Regions from separate parts of the Homo sapiens genome. Here region 1 is linked to region 2. The links are contacts of gene promoters, found by promoter capture Hi-C in blood cells and fetal thymus (Javierre and others, 2016). All regions are on one chromosome and are shown on one strand. The core of a region is centred on a gene start or on the middle of the fragment in contact, and the rest is flanking DNA. Distances in the headings are between cores, read along the strand shown.

The links. Contacts are between HindIII fragments. The CHiCAGO score rates a contact against its expected background, and 5 or more counts as called.
Region 1: a contact is called between a fragment that was not itself captured here and the fragment with the promoter of ATL1 in region 2, in 10 of 17 cell types (total CD8 T cells, endothelial precursors, naive CD4 T cells and 7 more). The highest score is 7.7, in total CD8 T cells.

What each region holds. Positions count from the first base shown.
Region 1 is chr14:50,870,112-50,874,732 of GRCh38, forward strand. It overlaps ABHD12B (abhydrolase domain containing 12B), which reads left to right and starts at 1,942. Exons shown (of 13, transcript NM_001206673.2): 1 at 1,942-2,167. The coding sequence starts at 2,064. The HindIII fragment of the contact is 165 bases long and covers 1,688-1,852 here.
Region 2 is chr14:50,557,208-50,561,569 of GRCh38, forward strand. It overlaps ATL1 (atlastin GTPase 1), which reads left to right and starts at 2,938. Exons shown (of 14, transcript NM_015915.5): 1 at 2,938-3,092. The coding sequence starts at 3,059. It also overlaps a transcript of MAP4K5 not described here. RefSeq lists an enhancer at 3,032-3,531 and a silencer at 3,273-3,632. The HindIII fragment of the contact is 3,968 bases long and covers 833-4,362 here.

The DNA.
Region 1 (4,621 bases), core at 520-3,019, 310 kb after region 2:
TGGGAAAGACCTTCTTGCAGAGTCTTATGCAACCTTTCAAAAAATGGGCCATAGTGATTTCCAATTTCAGAGATTTTTGCTGAGCATTTCAAACATATCCCTAGACTTGGGGCTTACAACTTTGTTCATCCAGCAAGTAGATGGAAATATCCTCTCTCAACCTGAGCAAGTAGATGGAAATAGACTCTGGGACCATATGCAGCTGTTCTTCTCTCCTCCAAGCTCTCCTCCCCATCTTTGATCCCTCCATCTCCACTTGGCATGGCCCCAGAGTCCCATCCAGAGCTTCCCTGAACAAGTTCTGGGAGATTCCAGACCACGTTTATGAAGAACTCCAAGGGTAGAGCCGACATCTGCTTGAAGCTTTCTCATCATGCAGGTTGTGGCTCTGTGAAAACCCACCTGCTGCTGGCTCATCAGTCAGGCTTGGATCCCATTGGTCCTTTCTGAGCTAATTCCTCTTCTATCTTGATGTGTGTGAATCAGAAACTGAACATTCCAGCCAGGTGTGGTGACAGAGACCTGTAATCCCAGCACTTTGGGAGGCCGAAGTGGGAGAATTGCTTGAGGCCAGGAGTTTGATAGCAGCCTGGGCAACATAGTGAGATCTCATCTCTATACACACAAGCGTGCGTGCGCGCGCGCACCAGGCATAGTGGTGCATGCTTGTAGTCCCAGCTACTTGGGAGGCTGGAGTGGAAGGATTGCTTGAGTCCAGGAGTTCAAGTGAGTTCAAGTACAGTGAGCTATGATTGCACCACTGCACTCCAGCCTCAGTGACAGGGTAAGACCATGACAAGAAAGAAAGAAAGAAAGAAAGAAAGAAAGAAAGAAAGAAAGAAAGAAAGAAAGAAAGAAAGAAAGAAAGAAAGAGAAAGAAAGAAAGAAAGAAAGAAAGAAAGAAAGAAAGAAAGAAAGGAAGGAAGGAAAGAGAAAGAAACAAAGAAAACAAACATTCCCAGAGCAAGTATAAGAGTATTAACAGGCAGTGAACAAAATCCCCCTTTGCCCTGACAGTTCCATGAAATGAGCTAGTACTCAAAGAAAACTTCCCTTTCTTGAAAAGTGTGGGTATTTTCCCCCAGACCATCTTACTATCCTCAAGCAGATGGGTTTCCACGCACTTTCTGGTGCTGACAGCCCCCTGCTGTGCCCTCTGAACACAGACACTACAAAAAACCCATTTCACCTCTTAAGATTTGCACCTTGCCTCCAAGATGAAGCCTTGATGCTGGCATCCGAATGTATCCAAATAAAACCTAATTCCCTTTCTTCCTCCTTTGTCCCCACACATGCAGGCCGTGGCTTCCCTAGAGTAGCTCTGGTAGACAGTTCCTGCTCCTAGGAGACAGTTGCACAATGTAAACCTGCACCAAGATGTAAACCTGTACCAAGGTCAAAGTTTCAAGGTGTGAACTCCTTGGTACAATGATGAGGTTCTGCTACATGCTGCTACGTAAACAAAATACCGAAAAGGTCTTAATTTTTTGCTACATGGAGTAATTGTGTTCATAACCCCACGTGGACAGACAAATCATTAGTAAATCAAAGGGAGCCAAAGAAATTCTTTCTATAGTAAGGGTGACAGGGTGGGGGGCTGTGAGGATTTTGGGGGTGGATGGGGAATTGGAGACAAGGAGGCTTCAGAAAAAGAGAAAAAGAAAAAAGTGAGGTTTAAGTAGAGGAAAGCTTATATTCTTCATGAAAATCAAAAGCTGTGGCGGTCAAACTTTTGTGTTAGTAGTACCATGGTGAAAACATATTTTACTGCGTTGCGCGCGCCTCACACCCACACACACACAGAAGTATAATGGAAATCAATTTAAAATAAAATGTAGCATAGCTAGCTATAAGCTTAGGACATCTGTGTGTGTGTGTGTGGCCGCGAACAGCCTGACCCGGGCGGAGCGCACCCTCGGGCCGCGTCTCCCCCGCCGTACCAGCCTGCCTGACCGCGCGGAGGAGGAGGGCGGGCGCGGTGCCGCCGGGGCGGGAAGGTCGCGGGCGGCTGCTCCGGACTGCAGCTCCCGCGGCGGTGGCGGCGTATCGGGACACGGCGCGGGATGGACGCGCAGGACTGCCAGGCGGCCGCATCGCCCGAGCCGCCCGGGCCCCCAGCCCGTAGCTGCGTGGCCGCCTGGTGGGACATGGTCGACCGCAACCTGCGGTGAGTACCGCCCGGTCCACCCCTGGCCGGGCCCCGACGGCTCAGGCTGCGCGGGGATGGGGCAGGGGGCCAGGGCGCGGCCGAGGCCGCAATCCCCTCTGCTGGCCCGGGCCCAAGGCCCAGCATTGTGGCTTCCGGGGGACCTCGGCGGCCCCCTGAGAACTCTAGGGCTCTTTGGTTGCCCTTGCTATCCTCAGCCTCAATCCCAACCTGGACCAGCGAGACTCTCAGGTTTGGTATTTCAGGAAGTTATAACTTTTGGGGGCTTCTGAAATACAGATGCCAGGGAGATGGTTGAATTCCTACACCAATCTCTATTATCTGACCATTTTGCTAACATACAAGATGGATCTGAATGACATTAGTAATAGTGACAATAGTAATATATGTTGTAATCTTGGACGGGATCCTCTTAGGTCAAGGGCCTATCTGTGTAGGTGGAAAAGAATCAGAAAATCCGTGCCTAGTTCCCTGAGTGTGAACTCCCTGGCATGTATTTAAAGAAAACACCTCCAGTATGCTAAAGATGTACATAGTGTGTTGAAACCATAACTTGGCATTACCTGTGCCAAGTTCTTATGTTGTTTAAGTCTGAAATGTATCAGTGGGTGTTTCGGGTTTTGTTTCTGTTTTCTTCCTCCCATGGATCCTCGGTTTAAACAGTAATCTTAAATTACCTGAATCCACCTGCAACATATTGTCAGTCTTGTTTGCACTGAAGCCAGGTATTGGTTGGAGATCGTGGACCCAGGACACGTGGGTATTTCATTTAGTTTTGTTGGTGTGGGAAGGTATTGGCATTTTTACTTCCCTCTTTCTATTCCTTTTGTTTAATTTGTGCTGATTAGAAAATATCCAAAAATTACATCCAGACACAGGAGACCTCACTTTGGAGTGCCCAGAGTGATGATGACAAACGGGGATCTTTTCTCTCTCTCTCTCTCTTTTTTTTTTCTTTTTTGAGACAAGGGTTTCACTCTGTTGCCCAGGCTGGAGTGCAGTGGCACAATCTTGGCTCATTCCCAGGGCTCCAGCGATCCTCCCGTCTCAGCCTCCCCAGTAGCTGGGACTACAGGCACCTGCCACCACACTGAGCTGATTTTTGTATTTTGTGTAGATATGGGTTTTCACTACATTGTTCAGGTTGGTCTCAAACTCCTGGAGCTCACAGATTCCACCTGCCTTGGCACCCCAAAGTGTTGGGATTACAGGTGTGAGCCACTGCACCTGGTCTCTTTTCTCTTCTATTCCTTTTTATTCTCATTGCAGACAGCAGAGTGCTGGCAGCTCTGCAGGGGCCCAGTCACCTAGAACCCATGCCTCCCAGCTCTGGGTTGGATCTGAACACGTGGCAGAATGTCCTGATTGCACTTGTCAAACTGCATATTAACAGGACTTCTCTCCCAGATGTGGTGATTCTGGGAACGTTGACATCTAATGTTTTTCACTTTGATGGTCTCTGTGGAATTGATGGCTGATTATTTAACATTTATTTGGCAGTAAAGGGCATTTATTAGGCAGAGAATCAAAGTTGCACATCATACTCATAGAGAATAACCCACTTTGTTGATAATGGAGTGGGAGATAGGGAGTTGGGGACCATCTATTACTTGCCTTACTAATTAGTGAAAAAAGTCTCAAGAGACACTTCCTGAAAGAACAAAATACTAGCGTATGTCTTCATCTGAGCAGAAGATTATTGGCTACCATAAGATGTGCTGAGGCTGAGGCCCAGACCCATTTCCACTATCCCAAGTCCTCTTTGATTCTTGGAGCCGGGTTCACTTAGGTGAGCAAACCTTCATGGAGGGCTTGCCATGCCCCTGGCCCTGATCATGGCACTGGAACTAGTGGGATGTGTTGTGAGACCCAAGAACATTTCATCATATGATTTTTTCAGTGGCTATTTTTTAATGCCTTGGGAATCTAGTTATTTATTTTACAAAAATTTTTATCAAATCCAGTTGCTGCTTAAGGTGGGTGGGCCAAGGAGAGTAAGTCTCCACTTTACAACTGGTTTTCTTTAAATTAGAAAAATGAGGCCAGGCATTGTGGCTCACATCTGTAATCCCAGCACTTTGGGAAGCCAAGGCGGGCAGATCATGAGGTCAGGAGATGGAGACCATCCTGGCTAACACAGTGAAACCCTGTCTCTACTAAAAATACAAAAAATTAGCCAGGCGTGGTGGCACATGCCCGTAGTCCCAGCTACTCCGGAGGCTGAGGCAGGAGAATTGCTTGAACCTGGGAGGCGGAGGTTGGAGTGAGCCGAGATCGCACCACTGCACTCCAGCCTGGGTGACAGAGCGAGACTCCGTCTCAAAAAAAAATAATAATAAAAAAAGAAAAATGGAAAATGTGCTCCAGAAGGAAGTTGGGGGAAACCAAAGGTTTATTTTCCTCCTCATTTCCCCCATTCCACCCCAAGTCATTACAATCCTAGATAGTGCTCAG
Region 2 (4,362 bases), core at 1,688-4,187:
ATGTGAAACATTACTGTTCTAAGACTCAGAGTTATATAAAAGCATTACACTTAGAGAAATATCAGTCCCCTTAATCCCTACTACCCTCTTCCCATTCTTCCATTATTTCTACCCTATTCCCACCCATCTCCCGTAGGTGACCAATCTCATTGGTTTCTGGTTTAGTCTTGCTGTATTTATTTTTCACAGATGAATGGATACTTTTTTCATATCCTTTCCTTTTTCCAGGAATGGTATACTATTTTCACTTTTTCCTCCTCATTTAACATTGTATTCTGGAAATCACTCTGTATTAGCTTATAAAGATCTTCTGTATTCTTTTTCACACCTACATAACATTCTATTGCGTATATGTATTATAATGTATTCAACCACTCATCTATATGTGGGCATTCAGGTTGTTTCCAGCATTTTACAATAACAAAAAGTAATGTAATACATAACCATGTATGTTTATATTTTCATACTATTGAGGTATTTCTTCAGAGTAGATTAAACTTATGATTAAAAAGATGCATTCTAGCAATGTCCACTGAAAGGGTCTAGAAACAGTGATCTTCACCCAGCAATGAGCACAACTAGCACCCACGTCTTGGTTTCTAAACACCTTTTCTCGTTAAAAGGAGCCACAGCATCTTGGAGAAATGGCTATTCTAGTTCTAAGATAGGGAAAATACAAAGGAACCTGAAACATTTTCTTTTACCAGAATACAGGGAACTGCTCAAAGACAAAAAGGGACAATGTTAAAAGGACACACGAGCTGACCCTCAGCCAAATTAGGGGAATTTAGGCATTAAAAAGAATGGTGATGCATAGCACAATTTTTTTAAAAGCTTCCATTAATTTATAGAGGGACTCAACATAGAAAAGTGGGAGAGGGAATGCCAGCTACTTAATTTAAAAGACATGACATCAAGAGGCTGAGGTGGGCAGATCGCTTGAGCTCATGAGTTTGAGACCAGCCTGGGCAACATGGAGAAACCCCGTCTCTACATACAAAAACAGCCAGGCGTGCTGGCGACCGCCAGTAATCCCAGCTACTTGAGAGGCTGAGGCATGAGAATCGCTTGAACCTGGGAGGTGGAGGTTGTAGTGAGCTGAGATCACGCCACTGCACTCCGGCCTGGGCAACAGAGGGAGACTGTGTCTGGAAAACAAACAAACAACAGATAATGATTTTAAAGCCTCCATTTAAAAAATCACTAATATGAAATTGATTCAGGCAAGGATCAATGGATGCTAAAATCAGTGGATGAAAAGTTATTGGCCAATAGTACAAAAAGTCACATACAGAGAGCTATTTATTTAAGCATTTTTTTGTGATTCACACAGTCTCAAAGTATTCACCTGCAGATTACTTACTAATTATAAACACAACAGGTTTTTAAAAAATTAATTTCTTTTTCAATTGGGCATAGGTGTTGAATTATATAAATTTTTTCTTTTTTGTGTGTAATCTATTGTACTCTTAAAAATGGGATTCATATGAAAGGGATTTTCAGGCTGGAATGTAAGCTGAGAATGATAGTAAAGGAATATAAGAAGAAAAGCAGACCACACTTCTCTTTTGTTCTATGAACTTGGTTTATAGGTATAAGGATGAGATAATGTCTGTCTTCCTATGTTGTTTCATTAATGTCATTTCAACTCTGTTGAGCACAGACTTCTTTAAAACCATGTTGTAAACTTGGTTACAGTGTTCACGACTCTGCAGTCACTAGAACCAGTAACTGAAATATAATGCATAAGATTTGGCAGTGGTGGGGGAGTTTGTTTTCAGATATGTTGATGTTCAAATGTCAGTAGGAAAACAACGTGAGGATAACCTTAGGCAGTTATAAACACACCTCTGGTATAATGTCCTCTCTTCTAGAGGGCAGAAGACTACAAGTATAGATTTGGGAATCATCAGCATGGAGGTCCTGTCTGAAGCCATCATAGTAAATTACATTGAGAGAGTGTAGCGTGAGGAGTTGCTTACCATGAGGAATTAGCAGAGATCATGGATCTGGTAATTAAGAGGCTGGCAGTGATCTCCTAAGAACCGATCAGTACAGAGTGTGAGTAACAACCAAATGGCAGAAGGAAACTGTAAGGGACGGCATGATGGTATCTTGAGGTTGAGGTAGTATAAAGGGACAGTGTTTCCAGGTTACTGAAAACAACTAAGTTTGTAGCAGAGAGAAAGCAGTGAAAAGGGAAAGATTGAAAGTATTTTTATTTTTTTTCTTTTCCTTTCAAAATTGTCTGCAACCTTTATGGCTGCCAGGGCCCACCCATACCCAGACTATGTAGTATGATTTCAGCTCAAATAATTGCTATTGGACTATAGGTCTGGACCTTATCTTTGCAAATCTAGTGGGAAATTTTACCCAGTGGATATTGAGTTACAGATCGTAATGAATCTACAGCTTTCATTTATCTTGATCTTCTTGATATAAATTTTGCTATTCTAATTTTAAGACAAACTACTCAGTATACATATACAAAAATGCATGATACCCTCTTTACTAACATGACCTTGCTTTTAAAATGGAAAAAAAAATGGGTGCCTCGTAGATAAATGCACATTATTTTAGCTACTTTGGCTATATAAATGTTGCCAGCTTGTTTGTACTAATGTATAACCGTGCTTGAAACAGGTATTTGAACATCCAGAATCATGCAGTATATCGGTTTGTGTATTTCTGATAACGCTGTTAAATTCTTTGAGAGTGTGTTCGAGGGGGGTGCTGTTTATTTGTTTGTGTTTTCCGTTGAAAATGTTGCGGTACGTGGTCTATCACTGTCTTCACGGTCTGGGGGTGGACTGAGGTAGGGAGGGTGTGACGCTGGTATCTGTGTGAACTCGGGCTTGTGATGCTGAGCTTGGTTCATCTGCTTTCTCCTCCCTTTTCCTCCCCACTCCTTCCCACCAGCGCCACAGCAACATCCTCAGAGTCTGAGCGAACTGCGCCCAGCGCGGGCACGGAGCCTCCCACCGCCAGCAACCTGCGGCCCCGGAGAAGGCAGCGAGCGCAGTGACAGCGCCTCACCGCCACCAGCTCCTGGACCACCATGGCCAAGAACCGCAGGGACAGAAACAGTTGGGGTGAGTAGCAAATGAGAACTTCTGCAGCCTGCACGGGGTCTTCTGGCCCTCCACTTTCTGCTTCTGTGGAGACAGGGAGGGCCAAGGGCTGCTAGGTGCCTGCGTCCACGGCTGGGAGACGGGCCGTAGCCGAGCCGCTCCCTGTTTGGGCGGAGGAACCATGGCCGAGCGGTACCCGCGTCACCGAATCGCGCTGTCGGGGTGAGGGCTGCAGCTTCGCGCAGGCCGGGCCTCCAGCTCCTTCTTCCCCACCCCCCTCCCGCCTCCTCCCAGCATTTGGACAGCACCCACCAGGCGCCTCCGGGGACTTGTGGGTTCCGCCTTAGCGATCGGTTGGGAGGAAGGCTATGGGGGTGGGCAGGGGGCTGTTGTTACTCGGCCCCAGAGGGGCGAGGGGTCGGGGATCTAGAGCAGGCCAAGCCCCAACCCCCCTCCCCGGGAGCCGCCAACTCGCTGGCTCTGCAGGGCGCGGGCTCCCGGCGGCGGGCGGCGGGCGGCGCGCTGGAACAATGAGGCGGAGCGCGCCGGGTCCCGGACGGACGGTAGCAGACCGAGCAACTGGGAGAAGGGCCACCCTCTTGGGAATTCCTGAGCACTGCAGTACTCCTCTTAATTTGGGGGTTGGGTGGGGGAATTGGGGAAGAAGGAGAGCAAAGTTGTGGTTTCCAGCCTTCTGCCCCACCCCGACGTGGTACCCCATTCAGACCAGCCCCAAGGGTGGCTTTGTTCTTTGATTTTACCTTTTGGAGACATTGGGCTCATGATTCAGCACCAGGCCGAGGGGAGGGGAAAGGAGAGGCGAGACCCAGTATGTTCACACCGCGAGTGGGTGGGCGGTGCTCACGCAGGCGGAGAAGAACGGGCGCAGCGATGCGGAAGAAATCGCGGCCCCGCCCGCCTTGCTGCTCCAGACCTAGTTCTGGACGGTTAGTGTGGGCAGGCTGGGCGTCTTTTTGTCGTAGGTTCCCGATTTCTTGCAGTCACAGTGCTAAACTCACCAGCATCTTAGGAACGAAAGCCCTCTAAGGCATTTATTTTATTATCTGAACCAGAGAATGTCTCAGGCTACTGTGGCTTGGTGGGTAAATAAATATTTTGTTCATCAGCTTGTTATTTAGAAATTGTTATTTGGAAATAACAGTTGTTATTATTTGAAAAGTTCAGAGCTGCTTGATTCTGTTCCACATCTCAGTGAGAGCTCTTCTATAACTGTTTATTTGAGCGAGAGGCACAAATGTAAATTTTAATTGGTTATTTCAGTTTACTTTAA